Linked DNA regions of Homo sapiens: region 2 is linked to region 1. Evidence: promoter capture Hi-C in 16 types of primary human blood cells and fetal thymus (Javierre and others, 2016). All regions are on one chromosome and are shown on one strand. Each heading gives the region's core, a stretch centred on a gene start or on the middle of the fragment in contact. The rest is flanking DNA. Distances are from core to core; before and after follow the strand shown.

Evidence for each region. The method cuts DNA at HindIII sites, captures the fragments that hold promoters and counts their contacts. A CHiCAGO score of 5 or more calls a contact.
Region 2: a contact is called between a fragment that was not itself captured here and the fragment with the promoter of ERLIN2 in region 1, in 2 of 17 cell types (M1 macrophages and M0 macrophages). The highest score is 6.7, in M1 macrophages.

Annotation. Positions count from the first base shown.
Region 1 is chr8:37,734,469-37,739,104 of GRCh38, forward strand. ERLIN2 (ER lipid raft associated 2) reads left to right here and starts at 2,166. Exons shown (of 12, transcript NM_007175.8): 1 at 2,166-2,210; 2 at 3,440-3,561. The coding sequence starts at 3,455. It overlaps LOC102723701 (a long non-coding RNA gene), which reads right to left and starts at 2,958. Exons shown (of 2, transcript NR_125821.1): 1 at 2,911-2,958; 2 at 293-2,330. RefSeq lists enhancers at 2,039-2,248, 2,728-3,520. The HindIII fragment of the contact is 8,102 bases long and covers 1-4,636 here.
Region 2 is chr8:37,216,503-37,221,138 of GRCh38, forward strand. No RefSeq gene overlaps it. Among named protein-coding and RNA genes, the nearest start is that of LINC01605, 380 kb to the right of the region's middle. The HindIII fragment of the contact is 851 bases long and covers 1,878-2,728 here.

The sequences.
Region 1 (4,636 bases), core at 916-3,415:
AAGGAAGGAAGGAAGGAAGGAAGGAAGGAAGGAAGGAAGGAAGGAAGGAGAAAAAGAAATTGTAAACATTTTTGTTAAACAAATCATCACAAATGTATCTGCTGGGTAACATAAAAATCACAGGTCTCTTAAGAAAGAGATTTTCAGAAGTACTAGATCATCATGTACTAGCACATCACGAAGTCCATCCCCCTGCCTTTAGGCACGTCCACAACTAAATAACTCAGGTCTGGTAAAATGACTCCTAAGAACAAAATCCCAAAACTTCTAGCCACAATTCACTCCAAAGTTTAATGTGAGGAAATTTTTGTGTTTTTATTATTTTTAATTGACACATAATAATATACATATTTGTGGGAAGGGGAGGGGAGACGGGTTGCCAGAGGTTGGTTAAAGGAAATTCTTAAATTACAAGTAATTTAAATACTTGATGCTGCAGGCTAGCCCCCATTTCATGGGTTGATGAACCCTAATATTTCCATTTTTCTTACTCAATTATTAAATAAACTATTAAATAAGCATGCCCAGCTGAGGTTATATCACTGAACAGGGAGAGAAAAAACTCAAGTTCTGATAGGATTGATCGAGAGATTGGCCAGCTGTGTCTGTTTGGGGTGGGGGATGCAGGGACAGAGTAGGGAGATGAAAGGCCTTCATTTATGGAGATGGGCACAGAGCTCCCAGACAGCACCATGTAACCCTCGTATGGGTTTCACCATGTAATGCTGAAACATCCCAACACCCAGAGCAAACGCAGGAAAGGTAAACGGGCCAATCCCAAGCAGGCATGCCTGGAAAAAACCACACTTCCCTTTTCCTGAGTCTTAAATCTGTCTAACACCACCAGCTTGCCATCTTCCCGGTGTAAAAGTTTTTCTTTTACTGAAGGCTATAATTAAGTGGACTCTTTCTCTCCTGCAAACAAAATATTAATAACCTCAGTGGCTGAATTAGAAATGCCCCAATGTGATGCTGGTGAATAGGGCAGGTGGAGGACAACGTGAGGCCCTTAGACTAGGAGACACAAACTCTGGATTCCGGGCCTGGTCCCACGTTGCCTTCAGTCTGTTTTTACTGGGCACCTAAGCCCCGGGGGTGCGGAAGGAAAGTCAGTCTCTGCTCTCCCGGGAACGTACAGTTTATCTAGAAAGACGAAGTGCACTAGCCCCTGTGCACTGTGGCAGGAGTTTAAAAAGCAGTGAACTCAAGATATTAAGGAAACACAAAGGAAACTTTCCTTGGCTTTTACCCTTGAACCTCGCTGAACTTCTTAGATTCCGTTCATTAAAATTAGAATAATAATTCCTTGTTAATATACTTTGTGGCGTTGCAGGATCCCAAGGGCCAAAGCTCCCAGAAAAATATAAAGAACAACTCAAGGTAGGGATTTTTGATTGGTGAGGTAATGATGCTAATCTGTACATTGAAAAGACTGTTTCATTTCAGCTGTGCTATAGGAAAGCAAACAGTTGCAACTCGCCAGTACCTTATCAAGGAGAGAAAAAAAAAAAGGCCGCGCATGGTGGCTCATGCCTGTAATCCCAGCAGTTTGGGAGGCCGAGGCAGGAGGATTGCTTGAAGCCAGAGTTTGAGACCAGAAATACCAAGACCCTGTCTTTACTAAAAATAAAATTGTCAAGTGTCGTGGCGTGCGCCTGTGGTCCCAGCTACTCAGCAGGGTGAGGTGGGAGGATCGCTTAAGCCCAGGAGTTCGAGGCTGTAGTGAGCTATGATCGTGCCACTGCACTCCAGCCTGGGCAAAAGAGCGAGACCTTGTCTCTAAAAAAACCAAAACGAACCAGGTTCGGCCTAATGCAGAAGGAAATCCGGAGCAATCCCCAAAGTCAACGCCTTGGAAAGGTTCGCCCTGGGTCTCAGTACTCCGGGGCATGCGCGTCCTGCCGCTCGCTCTCGGGGAGCTCCCACCAACACCGCCCTCATCCCCAGCCCCAGGACGGATACCCAAGACCGAGGTCCAGGACCGCACCGACCAAGTCGCGGGCGATCCCTGGCGGCCAGCTACGGCCATTGACCGCTGGGAGCGCGAGGGGCGGGGCGCAGAGCGAGCGCGGGGCGGGGGTGTGGTCTTCTCGCGTGAATTGATGGCGTCATCGAAGCGACGGCCCGGAAGGAAGTCGCGTGCTGAGGGGTGTGACGGTTTTCTTGCTCGTGGGCTCGGACGAGTACGGAGCGCCTGCAGGGACAGCCTGGTACGCGGCCCCCGCCCCTTCGTGCGCGCGCTGGGCCTAGCTGCCGCTCAGGGTCGGGGCTGACCCGTCACTTTCGGGAACCTCAGTCCCAGCAGCTTCTCTCCCTCAGCCGGCCCGCTCCTGGAGAGAGACAGAAACCCTTTTCTGTCGCGTCCTCTCCTTGCGAGCCGCAGGGGGACCGAGCGGAGGCTATTGGAGCCGCAGCCCCAGACCAGGGCGCTTGACCCTCTCTCGGAACGGGGCGGGGAAGGGGCGCGAGTGACCTCGGGGAGGGAAGGGCACTGGCAGGAAAGGACGCAACTGCAGATCGGTAGCCGGAGGCCGCCACGGTAAAATAAGCGCCTCGCAGATGTCCGCGCCCCGGTTACGTTAGACCTGGGAGGCAGAATCCACGCCCTGCGCTCACGGGCCCACGCACGCACAGCTGAACTTTGCAGTCAGTCACCATAGTTCCAGATCATTCAGCGTTCAGGATCCCACTCCTCCGCGTCCTGGTGCCTGAACGCGGTTGGACCTAGGAGCCTAGAGGCTCGCAGTTTGGGACATTGCCTTTCTCTCTGACCACGGGCTTGGGGATCTGTCAGGTGCAAAGTGCCAAAGTATATGGGGGGGAGTGTGGCTTCAGGCTTGTTCAGAGCCCTGTCCTGTTTAGGGCCAAAGGAATAACTGGGAAGGTGGATGCGAGGCCAACGAATCCTACCTTGAAACTCTGCTCGCCTGCTGGCTCTGCCACTCCAGCATCTGAAAGGAGTAAATAATGGTTTCCTTTGAAACTGCAGGCAATTAGGAGTGGGAGACTCTGACCAGAATTACATAGCCACAACTGCCTGTCATTTGGCATCCTCTGTAATTTGGGCCAAAGTACTGCAGCTGCCTCTCTTCCCTACTACTGGTAGGAAAGGTTCAGTGACAGCACATTCGTGTTCACAGGAAGACAAGGCTGTGTTCTGAACCCTACCCAGCTGGCACGGGTTCTCCCTTGAGCAACGGCTGTATCCGGAGCCAGTGCTTCCTCAGTGCGGTGGGGGCTCTAATTTTACAGTTAAAGAAAGGGGAACGTTGACTGAGAACGAGGAGGAAGCGAGTTGTAGATCTAGCCTTGTGTTCACACGACACCAGGCTGGATATGAGTCACTCGCAGGGAGCTCAGCTTGGTGAGGTCCTCTCGCTGTTGTGGCCTTTTCTCCTGCACGTTGGACCACACACATTTTCCCGTGTCTTTTCCCTAGGATAAAGGCTCACTGATGGCTCAGTTGGGAGCAGTTGTGGCTGTGGCTTCCAGTTTCTTTTGTGCATCTCTCTTCTCAGCTGTGCACAAGATAGAAGAGGGACATATTGGGGTATATTACAGGTAAGGCAGAGACAGGGAGAAGCCGGCAACTTCCTGTTAAATAGCTCCCTTTCCTGGTCATTGCTTTCCTAGCAGATTCTGCTGAACATCTCTATTTATATTTCCTTGAATAGGGGAGCCTTTTCAGATGGAGCTTTTTATGTCAGTAACCACGGGAAAGAGAATACACACACACACATATATATGTAAATTTAGAACTTCACTTAGTAGTCCAAGATGATGCCATGGGTGGTGATTAATAAATGTGTATATAGATTTAGAGACAAAATCTAAAGGAAACTGGTGCTCCTCATTGATCATCCCTAAAATACTGTTTTCTCCTACATTCCTCTGGCAGTCTTAGCTCTACATCCCTCTGGCAGTCTTAGCTCTACATCCCTCTGGCAGTCTTAGCTCTACACTGCTAGGTTACCTTTACAAAAGCCAGCTGAGTACCAGTTCTTGATGGCAACTTGAGAAGGTAGCCTACTCTGCTAATTTGGGATGCTCTTTTAAAATTAACATTTCAGCCAGCCTGGGTCACATAGTGAGACCCTATCTCTAAAAAAATAAAATAAAAAATAAAATTTTAATTGGCCGGCTGTGGTGTCACACACACGTAGTCCTAGCTACTCAGGAGGCTTAGATGGGAGGATCACCTGAGCCCAGGAGATTGAGACCAGCCTGAGCAACATAGTGAGAGCCCATCTCTACAAAAAGTAAAAAATTAGCCGAGCATGGCAGCACGTGCCTGTAATCCCAGTTATTTGGGGGGCTGAGGTGGGAGGATCACTTGAGCCCAGAAGTTTGAGGCTGCAGTGAGCTATGATCACACCACTGCACTCCAGCCTGGGTGACAGAGCAAGACCCTGTCTCTAAAAATAAAATAATATTAACATTTCAAGAAAAATGAAAGAGCCTGCAGGTTGACTTACGTCAATCAAAGCAAGCCTTAGGATAGTGGTTCCTACAATAAAGGAACCCATTATGTCACTGTTTATTTTATTGGTTTTTTTTTTAATTCTTTGCCTAATATAAAGCAAAGAAGCACTTATAAGTCTTGGGTTGCTTTCTTTTTAGTAACCTCCATGACCAA
Region 2 (4,636 bases), core at 1,053-3,552, 520 kb before region 1:
ACAGCACTGTACAGGTTGTCATTGTACTGAGTGCTGTAGGCAATGGTAACCCCATGGTAAGTATTTGTATATCTAAGCATATCTAAACATTTAAAAAGCACAGTAAAAATACAGTATCATAATCTTATGGGATCACCATAGTATATGCGGCTGGTTGCTGAGTCAAACATCATTATGCATCACATTACCGTATTAGGTGACTGGTACAGACCACGAGTACCACGAGATTCCAGAAGGTAAACACCACTGCAGGCTGAGACCCATGCAAGGGTGTGGCTCAGCCAGGATAAAGGGTTTCCCAGGCAGAAAGGACTGCTTTGGCAAAGGTGAAGAGGTGCAAATTCTTCTGTATGTTCAGAGCTAATTAGGAGACCAGTGTGACTAGCATCGAGGGGCCAGTGCAGAGAAGTGGGGATGAGGCTGGAAAGATGGGTGGAGACATGATTGGGAAAGGGGCTGAGATGTCTGGAGGAGGAGTGTGGGTATAGGGTCATGGCATGGCAAGGTGGTAACACAGAAGGTTTATATTTTTGGACAACACGATTTCTTGAGGCTTTCCAGTCATTCAGTTTCTTTTTATTTACCAGGTGGATAGAGGTGGTCTTTCTTGACTTGAAGCTTGAAGAATGCCAGAGAAGTCTATTTAGCTCTGCCTATGGGGTCAGGTGGTTCTATCTTCTGACTCTGCATTGGCTGACAAGGATGTGAGTGTCAATATAGGGCGTTTCCCTCCTCCCAGCCCTCTGTGCTGGGCATTTGCTTGAATGCACACAGGGTCACATGTGTCCCTCAAGAGTTTCCATTCATCCACCCTGTGAACATGTATTGGGATGGAAAGGTTAATACTGAATGAGCATTTATTGAACCCTTACTTTATCTCAGGTGCTGCCAAGTACTGGAAGATTTATTTAAGTTTCAAAAAGATCGTAACTGGCCCAGGAAATAGGAGGCTAAGCAAAATGGCACAGGCAAGATTTCTGTTTATGGCTCCCAAAGTGTCAATCCAGTGCTTGGATCCCAACCACACATCTACTGCACTATCTTCTTAGCTTCAGATGCGACGTATGATGTACGCACTTTCTAGTGTATCTTTTGATCTCTAACTTCATCATTGTCCCCAAACAGATTCCAGATGAAGCTGCAAGGGAATAAACTTGGACTTGGTGCCTCCAGCCTGCTGCTCTGTACCCCTTTTCGTCCCTCAGTGGACAATGTGAACATGTAGTACTCACACTTTCCCTGTGCTCCAGGAAAAAATCTGCTCTCAAGAAAATATTTGAAACTTGTTTACTCTAAGATGCACATAAGAGGAAGTATTATAGCTTAAAGTAGCACCTTTCCAGGGTTATTTATATCTTTTTACCTTGAAAAAAACCTCAAAGCCAAAGGATTCCAACTCTAATTTGAGGATTTCAGGCATCTCAGATGATATAAGCAGTAGTATATCCAGGGCACGAGTGACACGTCAGTCCCCCTGCATGCCACAGAGGTGGCCACCTGCCCCATCTATATGAAAAGCTGGCCTTGATCTCTGTTCTCCAGGGCCTGCCATCATCATAACAAGCTCCAAACTCCCATCTCCCTGTGATTCCTGAGAAAAGTTTAGGAGGTAAGAGCATTTGAGTAGACTGAGGATACAGAGAGCAGCAGCCAGGCCATGATCAGAGAGGAAGCAAGTTTGATGAATTTGTCCATAGTCCTGAGTTCTAATCTCAGCTCCATCGGTTTCCAGTTGCCTGACCTCAGGAAAGATACCTTATCTGTAAGCTCAGTTTTCAATCTTTAAAACAGAACTTATCATACCCTCCTCGTAGAACAGTGCCAACATAGTGTGATAATGGGTAATTCCTCATGATGGTGATGATACTCATGCCCCAAGCTTTGCTGGGACACTAAACATCCCAGAGCTGGATTCTCTAAAACCTGGAATATTCCCTGCAGATGATCTTAATTGCAGGCTATTAGTCTTCCCAGCAACATACTCAGGCTGCCAGCCCAAATGCTGTAACTTCACAAGACACCGAAATGTAGGTGAGGGCAATGCTCCTCTCAGGAGAATGCTATACTGGTGGTTGATCGACATTGACAGCAGGTGTGAGGAGACATTTTTGCTGGCCATCCAATATCTCTGGTCCTCTGGTAATTCAAATTACTTTCCAAATGTCACTGCATCTGTCTGAATCTGACAGGTCTTCAAACCAGGGCCCTGTCTCAGAGTTTGAAGACCTGGACATATTCCTGAAGGGGCTTTTGATCTTCATTTCTTTCCATGTGGGAGGGTCCTTTGTCAAACAAAGGCCAGACTCATGAAACCTGCAGACAAAAAACCTAGTGACAGGTAGTCTGGCAGGTGAAGACAGTAACACTTCCTCTGCAGGCATCCGGCTAGTTGGATAAGATACATGACATTCCTGAAAATGAACAGTTGGAAAAATACTTATACTGCTCTTCCAGCCCACTACAGCATCATCCCCACTTATTTTGAAACTTGACTTCTAGTAACTTCCAAGATGTGCAAGCAAAGAAAGCCCTGGATACCTGAAATAACTATTGCATGATCCTACACCAAATTCATGGACTGTATTGCTTGGAAGAAGAACCAAGAAACTCATTCAAGGCCTCCTCACTCCTGCTTAACATAAAAATCTAACAGTCTCACATATTTGATTTCCTAGTCACAGCAAATTGGATGTTGCATGTATAAGACCTACAGGAGGCGGAAGAGGAAAGCTTTAGATAAAGCTCAATAACAGCAATGCGAATTGACAACTGACAGCCCGATAGTAGAGGAAATAAACAAAGTTAAGTGAGAAGAGGCATTGTGGGTGCTGGGCGGTCATAAAAATTAGTCAAGGTCATGCAGAAAGAGTTAAATTCTGGTGTGTATCTAAGAAGGTGAGGAGGTGTAGAATGCATTTTAGAAAGTCTTCCATTCAGAATGGCTAAAATAAATGAAATTTTGGCTTTAGAAAGAACAAGCTTGGGATTTCAGGGAAATTCACTTAAGTGGAACACGGTACTCCCCTGACAGTGGAAGATAAATGAGGCTGCTCTGTACCTGCAAAGGCTGCCACGATGGGCTGGGAAAGTAAAATAGACACCTGTAAACTTTTCAGCAGCTCATAATGTTCTGAAATTTCCCCATATCCTCCCAACAGCAGGCTGGCCTGTGCCCTGCTGGAGGAGTTGCTGTGCGTGCATTGAACAGTAAGGCGAGAGCCTCTCCTTTAATGCCACCTGGCACAGAGACGTGCCAGGCCCCATGGGAACAGATGCCATGAGATACCTTGCTGGGCATGTGGCTTCTGCTTCTCCTCTGCTGTTCCTTCAGCCTTTCACCTCCTTCAGCACAGTGCCCCCAAAGCTGGAGTGTCCATGTTGCTGACAGCTATCGACCATCAGCAGACCCTCAGCATTTACTCATGAGGCAGCAGTTCTCCAGATTCTCAGAGGTTTAACCCAAACACACCCTACTCACACCACTCGCCTTGTAGAGCCACAGCCCCCCATCCAAGCTCCAGCGGTGGCCAGGAGCTATTTTAAGGACACTGACCTAGGCTGGTCTCTTTATGATAGTGGTTGTTCTCAGTGTTAGCTTACATATCAGATCCACCTGGAGAGTGCTTCCCAACCCACCACCACTACTCAAGAATCAGCTCCAGTTGATTTGGGGTGGCCCTAGCATTCGTCTTTTTGAAAAGCTCCCCCATGATTCAAACGTGCAGCCAGGGTTGAGAACCACCAGCCTACACTGGAGCCAGATAGGAACAGATGTGATCTGGGCCCTCCAAGAAAGGCCTCCATGCCCTGATGTGTCTGCCATGTGGGACCGCAACTGAGGTGGAGGCTGGCTTTATTGAGCTACATAAAGGCCTTTAAAATTCATATACTGGCCGGGCACAGTGGCTCACACCTGTGATGCTAGCACTTTGGAGGCCCAGGTGGGCAGATTGCTTGAGCCCAAGAGTTCGAGACCAGTGTGGGCAACATGGTGAAAACCCATCTCTACAAAAAAAAAAAAAAAAATTAGATACTGAGAAGAAGAGGGTAAAGAGGGGAAGAAAAGTGGGCTTGGTGTGTGGGAAAGGGAGTTGAGGCTCTAGAAAGCAGGAACCGTAGGGCAAGGGAAACCTGTAGATAAATGATCCATCAAAAAAGAATTGGCCTGGCAAAGTGACTCACGCCTATAAACTGGTACTATGGGAGGCCCACGAGGAGGATTGTTTGAGGCCAGGAGTTCAAGACCAGCCTGGCCAACATAACAAGACCCTGTCTCTACTAAAAAAAAAAAAAAAAAAAAAAAAAGACAGAGACTATTTGGAGGTGGAGTTTGGGGAGAAGAAGGTTCAGCAAGAGTCACTAAGAGCAGCTGCCTTTGCAAAATCAGGCAAGTATGAGCGGGAAGACATGGCGTCATGGACACTGCCAGGCTGGTAGGCTCAGAAGCTGAACTTGTCGTGCCTTCCCTGCAAGGGAAGGAAGCAGTATGAACCACCAAGTAAGACTTTGCCATCTATGTTACCTGGATCAGGTTGACCTGGCCAGGTCAAGTGGTGCGAGTGAGATGGGCTGAGACTCCCAGGGGCTCCCTCTGGTTACTGGATAGGTGACTAGTGTCATGTAGGCCTGGCCTTAT